Linked DNA regions of Homo sapiens: region 1 is linked to region 2. The links are contacts of gene promoters, found by promoter capture Hi-C in blood cells and fetal thymus (Javierre and others, 2016). All regions are on one chromosome and are shown on one strand. The core of a region is centred on a gene start or on the middle of the fragment in contact, and the rest is flanking DNA. Distances in the headings are between cores, read along the strand shown. Region 1 overlaps RBKS (ribokinase). Region 2 holds the start of PPP1CB (protein phosphatase 1 catalytic subunit beta).

The links. Contacts are between HindIII fragments. The CHiCAGO score rates a contact against its expected background, and 5 or more counts as called.
Region 1: a contact is called between a fragment that was not itself captured here and the fragment with the promoter of PPP1CB in region 2, in 1 of 17 cell types (total B cells). The highest score is 5.3, in total B cells.

Annotation. Positions count from the first base shown.
Region 1 is chr2:27,884,052-27,887,417 of GRCh38, forward strand. All of the region lies in intron 1 of RBKS (ribokinase), which reads right to left. Among named protein-coding and RNA genes, the nearest start is that of RBKS, 4.7 kb to the right of the region's middle. The HindIII fragment of the contact is 2,266 bases long and covers 633-2,898 here.
Region 2 is chr2:28,749,707-28,753,121 of GRCh38, forward strand. It overlaps PPP1CB (protein phosphatase 1 catalytic subunit beta), which reads left to right and starts at 2,124. Exons shown (of 8, transcript NM_002709.3): 1 at 2,124-2,470. The coding sequence starts at 2,419. It overlaps PPP1CB-DT (PPP1CB divergent transcript), which reads right to left and starts at 2,050. Exons shown (of 5, transcript XR_007086259.1): 1 at 1,937-2,050; 2 at 1-679. RefSeq lists enhancers at 1,537-1,746, 2,050-2,694 and silencers at 1,877-2,066, 2,557-2,776. The HindIII fragment of the contact is 5,134 bases long and covers 769-3,415 here.

The DNA of each region.
Region 1 (3,366 bases), core at 516-3,015, 870 kb before region 2:
CCTCGAATACTGGGAAAGCATGATACTTTTTGGATCAATATTCCTTTTTTAGTTTTTGAAAATGTGACTGTAAAAGAGATTTCTCTGTTCTAAATATGACAAGCCAAGAGGCTTCTTGACTCTGTAACCTGTGTCCCAGTTACAAAGTACTCTATTATGTCAAACAAATACAAACTTTGATAGGTACAGTATAACTCTCTTTTATTTTTTTATGTTTAACAGGGTCTCACTCTGTTGTCCAGGCTGAAGTACAGTGTACAATCGAGGCTCACTGTAGCCTCAACCTCTGGGTCTCCAGCGATCCTCCCACCTCAGCCCCCCAGTAGCTGGGACTACAGGCTCACACCACTACGCCCAGCTAATTTGTGTATTTTTTGCGGAGACCGGGTTTTGCCATGTTGCCCAGGCTAGTCTTAACTCCTGAGCTCAAGCGATCCACCCGCTTGGCTTCCCAAAGTGCTGGGATTATAGGCTTGAGCCACCACTATGCCTGGCCATAACTTTTTTTTTTTAAGTAATCTAGGTCCAATGCTTCATCCGCTTTGGATCTAAAAGCTTCTAAATTCACTTATTCCACTATCCAATTAAACCTTTTGAAAATTAGGCACTCATTTCCTGATTTGGCAGGATTAAGCTTAGATGCTTGGGTGAACACGAGTCTTATCTCTCAAGCCATCACTTTTAATTGGCAGCATGTAAAAAGATAACACAGAGTTTTAGTTGACATCAGAGTCTATTGCTATGGAAATATAAACATAGGTTTGTATTAAGCACGTCTCAAAGCAAGTTTTAGGACTGCAGAGAGACTTGAAGAGAGACAGGAAGTCAATTTTATTAAAAATTTATCCTTTAAATGTTGTAGTGCCCTAGGAGGTCAGACCCTCAGTGATCTCATCCAGCCTCATGGCTTTAAATACCATTGATACACTGATGACTCTGAAATTTATATCTCCGGGTTGGACCTCTCCTTTGAGATCCAAACTCTTGTATCTATTTTCTTCACCTCCTCAATTTGATATCTAGTAGGTACCTCAACCCTCCCAATTCCACTCTGTGCTCCTGATACAGCCCTCTCCCACCCAACTTTCTCTGCATACAATCTTCTGCGTTTTCATAGAGGTCAACTTCCACTAATCCTGTCAACTCTACCCCAAAAATATAATAGAAAGATGCTTTCTCTCCACTTCACTGCTTTCAAGCTACCATCATTTCTTGCCTAGATTGTTGGGATTGACTCTGAATTTGTGTCCCTGCTTCTGTATTTGCCTTCCCCTTCATGCTATTTATTCTCATATAGCCCTTGGAGAGATCCTATTATAATCAAAATAAGATTATGTCACTCCCCTGCTCAAATCCTCCACTAGCTTTTCATCTCATCCAAAGTATGACTCAATGTCCTTTAATCACTGATTGCTGTCTCCTGACTCTTTTTTTCTTCTTCATCCATACTGGACTCCATGTTCTTCACTGAATACGGCCTTTGAGTACACTATTCCTTCTGCCTGGAATGCTCTTCCCTCAGATTATGACTTGTTTTCTTTCCTCCTTTAGGTCTTTACTCTAAATAACCTTTTCAGTGAGGCTTTCTGAAGCCAGTAATCTAAACTTCCTATTCCCATCCCTCCTTACATGTTTAATTTTTCTCCTTAGCTTTTACCTAACTTACTATGTAATTAACTTATTTCTACTGATACTGTCTTACTAGAATGTAAACTTCATGAGGCAGGGATTTTTGTCTGTGTTTTCACTGCTGTATCCTCTGCACATCAGGAAGTGCCTGGCACATAGTATAAATTCAATAAATATTTCTTGAATGAATAATTAAAAAAATGGGTGATACAGGTCATAAAAAATAAGGTTTACTAATGAAAACATGATTAACAAAGGCCTATGAGCCTAACGTCTAAAAATATTCACACATTGTTGTTTTGTTGTGGAAATCTGTCTTTGGAAAATCTTTGACTTTATATCCCATAAGACCAGGGTTGATTCCTTGTATCTTTGTAATGTGTAACTTTAGAGATGAGTGTTCAAGAAGGAAGAGGATGATGAGAAAAATATAAGTGAGTATTAAATAATTTCAATTGTTTGCCATGCTGTATGAGCTAATGATTTTTAAAAATTATTACTACATACGACTTACTATTCATAGCTGACTGAAATTAGAAATGAAAAAAAAGGTTATTCATTGATTGAATTAGCAGTGTCTGGCACACAGTAATGTAATATATAAAGTAAGTTGGGCTTGGATGCCATCTAAAAGGGCTTAGTTATTGAAGCAGTTTTATTTCTGAAGTGATACTAAAGAATAGGCATGCGTGTCCAGGCTAGTTACAGTTAAATTTAGGAATAAGGCACAGTAATAAAGATACTATCTTTAGACTTGAAAATTATAAATCCTTAGTTGTTATTCCTTATCAGTTTATAAAGTTAACAATGAATGTACAGACTACAAGCTATCAAATGTACTGTAGATGAAAAGGGCAATAAACACTAGTCAGAGTTAGAGGTAGAATGATATAATGGAAAGGTACGAATTGGGGCCAGGCACGGTGGCTCACGCCTGTAACCCCAGCACTTTGGGACACCAAGTAGGAGGATCGCTTGAGCCCAGGGGTTCAAGACCAGCCTGGGCAATATAGCGAGAGCCCATCTTTAACAAAATAAAAAATAGAAAATATATATTTAAAAAAATAAAAAAGAAAGGTTAAGGATTGGGAGACCTGGGTAGTAGCCTTTACTAGCCACTTACTAGCCAGTAAGTAACCACTTACTGGCTGTGTGATTTGGAGTAAGTCATTGAAGCTCTCTTCCTTATCTCACTTGTAAAATGTGAGGATAGAATGATAGGCTTCAAAGAGTCTCTGAGAACTAAATATTGTAGGATTTTTTACTTCAAGCTTAACCACTGTGGTAGCAAAAATAACATACTCTCTGCTCCCCTCTCCCAAAGTATGTCCACATCCAAATCCCCAGAATTTGTGAATATGTTGTTACGTGGCAAGGGGAAATTAAGGTTCCTAATAAGTCACCATAAAATAAAGAGATTATTCTGAATTATCTGGTTGTGCCTAATGTAATCACAAGAGTTCTTATAATGTAGAAGAGGGAGCCAGAAGACTGGGGATCAGAGTGATGTAATGTGAGAAAGACCTGAACAACCATTGCTGGCTCTGAAGATGGAGGAAGGGGCCACGATGAGCCAAGGATGTGGGCAGCCTCTGGAAGGTGGAAAAGGAAAGAAAACAGATCCTCCTCTAGAGTCTCCAGAATGGAGCCCAGCCCTGCTGACACCTTGATTTTAGCCCAGTGAGACCTGTATCAGACTTCTGACCTCCAGAACAGTAAAAAAATAAACTTGCGTTA
Region 2 (3,415 bases), core at 874-3,373:
GTATACCTGAACTCTAATTGTGGACAGGGTTCAAAGTTCTTTTTCATGGGATTCATGGGCCCCATGAAAATTAGAGGCTAAGTAGGCATCTAAGTAGGAGCATTTACGTGCTCCCAGGCATTCTGTTACACTTAAAGAGGCTCATGGAAGAGATTTGGGCAAGTGGTATAACTCTACAAGCTGCTATATTCAAGTCCTAGTTCCAGCTTAGCCAAAACACCTACTCCGATTGCAACTGATCTTTTTCTTGGTTGCTAGAAAACTGAGAGTCATATGTGTGGCCTACCTCCAGCAAACCAATAGGACCTTACACCATGCATTTTGCATACAAAACTGCTGGCTTAATCTTATCTTTCACACTCACGGTTTTCTTTTGTCCTATTTTTCTCTGTACTTATTTTTAATTTACCCTGATGTACACATTTATGTAAACTACGTTAAATCCTTTCCTCTGGAATAAAGTAGGGTGTAAATAAATTTAACAAAACAACAAAGAGTGATGATGAGCCAGGTCTTCACTCCTGAAGGCCTCAAAACGAACTGGCAGTGATCTGTGAAAACTACAGAGAACTGCCCGTTCATCTCCACAGATTACTGAAGTCTGTGAAAACTACTCCAGCCAGGACCACCATTATAGCCTGCTGCCTGTTGTGTTCACAATCGATGCACAAACTCAACCCTGAAATGGAGAGAAAAATAGGGGAAAAAAGACATTAGGAAATCCTAGCTCTATGTCATCTGGACATTAGAAAGCACTTGGTTGGACAAAGCTTTTTCTCCCCCACAGCACATGCCTGTTTCAGCATCTCAGCCCACATTCACGGAGAGGGAGAATATAGCAATTGTTAAGAATGCAGACTCTAGCACTGCATGCTCTGCTGTTTATTTGTGTTATTTGGGCTAGGTTTTTTAACCGTCTGTGCCTCGGTGAATCCCATCTACAAAGTAGAGATAATAATAGTACCTACCTCACAGGGCAGTTGTAAGGATTAAATGAGGTAACCCGGGTGTAACATTTAAAACAGTGGCAGAGTACATACAGGGATCTGAACAAATGTTAGCTACTATTAGTGATATGTGAGTGGGGGAAGCACACTGCCTTGGACTTGAGGCAATATCAAGTCTGAGTTTCTGGAAAAACACTTGTGGAATAAGTAAGGGCTGGCCACCTCCTAAAACCGGACAAAAGATCTGGCTTGCCTAGATCCTTAGCGTGACTGCTTCTCCTCCTGCCTTTCTAGAGGCAGTATTACGTGATGGAAATACTTGGTGGGTGCTGTGGGCACAAAGATAAGTTAATGTGTTTTTATTCCCTAGGAGCTGAGTCGAGAGTAGGAGAAAAATGCATAAATAATTACCAGGTAGGATGATTAAGCAATATACTGGAGGCAGCAACAGAAACACACCGTGGAAAAAAAATACCCACGGCGTGGATGAAGATATGAGATGTGTGAAAGCGCTAGACACAGGCAGCCACCTGCACCCATGTAAAATTGGATTATTGCTGACTCCTACAAGGCCCACTTTAACGCTTCTTTCAACCAGAATCCCTGCAGAACTAATTTTGTAGAACCGCCGGGGATAAAGACCTTTATTTGCAATGTCGAACTCCAGCAGAGTAACCCCTTTTGCTTTCCACACGCGCAAACCCGGGTCCCAAACGCTGCAGTTCGCGTTTCCCGGCTAACGGAAGAAACACGAGGAACTGTTTGCAGATCTAGGGGATGAAGCCAAAAAACGGAAAGCGAGGCCGAAAGGGCGCAACCACCACGTCTGGAGGAGGCCAGTGAAGTAGAGAAAGGGGAAGGTCAGCCCTGCCCCAGCGCGCTCTGCGTAACCGGGACTTCCTCCGCGCGGCAAAGCCGGGGAACCTCCCTGGCGCCTGCGCCACCGTGGCGAGACTCGGCGCCGTGGACGTGGAGAGAGGGCGACGCACCTGCGCGAAGACGGCAGCGGGAGAAGCCGCTCCAGTGCGGTTGCGCGGCGGCCCAGGCGTCGAGGGGAGCCTCGGCGGGGAGCGCACCGCGCGCCTGCGCGGAGAGCTGCGTGACGCGGCGGCGCGCAAGGGACGTGCGGAGTGAGTGGCGCTGCGGGTGGGGCCGTCGGCGGCGCTGGTGAGCTTTGCGGAGCTGGGCGGTGCCGAGGAGGAGGAGGTGGCGGCCTGGGTCTGACGCGGCCCTGTTCGAGGGGGCCTCTCTTGTTTATTTATTTATTTTCCGTGGGTGCCTCCGAGTGTGCGCGCGCTCTCGCTACCCGGCGGGGAGGGGGTGGGGGGAGGGCCCGGGAAAAGGGGGAGTTGGAGCCGGGGTCGAAACGCCGCGTGACTTGTAGGTGAGAGAACGCCGAGCCGTCGCCGCAGCCTCCGCCGCCGAGAAGCCCTTGTTCCCGCTGCTGGGAAGGAGAGTCTGTGCCGACAAGATGGCGGACGGGGAGCTGAACGTGGACAGCCTCATCACCCGGCTGCTGGAGGGTGAGTGCGCGCCTGGCCGCGGGACAGAGGGAGGTCGGGCACCGCCGCCGACCCCTGCGTCCCCGTCTGCCGCCGGAACGCGAGGGGACCCCTTTCCCGCCCCGAGACGAGTCTCTGGGAGCGCGGCGCGGCGGACGAACCGAGGAGGGGGCGAGGAGGCTCTGGGCGCGGGGGAGCGGCCTCTGGGAGCGCGGTCAGGGGAGATCGGGGGAGAGGGGGCCGTTCCCGCGGACCCTCGGGGGCCAGGCCCGCCGGCCGAAGGCTGTGCGGAGCGGGTCTGCGGGAGACAGCCTTTCGGAAAGGCCGCCGGGCTCCGCGCGCCGTGGTGCTCGCCTCCGGTGACCCGAGGATGGGGAGAGGATGCCTGCCACTGGGCTTTGTGCGTCCGTGGAATCACTGTTCTTCTCTGTTCTCTTTGTGCATTGCCCTTGGCTGCCTCCGATTGTCGTTCCGGGAGTGAATTTTACGTATATATATATAAACCTGTCCTTAACAGGACTGCTTCGTCTGCTCTGCATTTTTACACAATGCTATATAGAATGGATTCTTCTTAAAGAGAGGATAAAATTAGCGGGAATTAATCTACCGTTTGTTACTTGGCCTAAAAAAATTGTAAGACAAGATATTTGATCAGGTTGAAGATGCACCTAAGAAATGTGATGTATGTAGATGGGTTTGCTGAAGGGATTGGCTTTTGCATTTGATTTGAGCAGAGCTTAATTTCTGCACAAACTTAGTGAAAATCTATTTTTAAAGCCTGTCTTGTATTCGAAAGGTATTTGTAGGTCTACGCAGCATTTGAACTTTCCGGGCTCAAGTGTTCTTATTGAATAGTTTTATGTTGGTGGGAAGGCAAGGGGGGAAAACGAAGAGGTGGACTAGCCGGGAGTTAAATGTATTGATTCATTGCAGGATATTATTCAAAGTTAAATGCAGTCTTCTGCC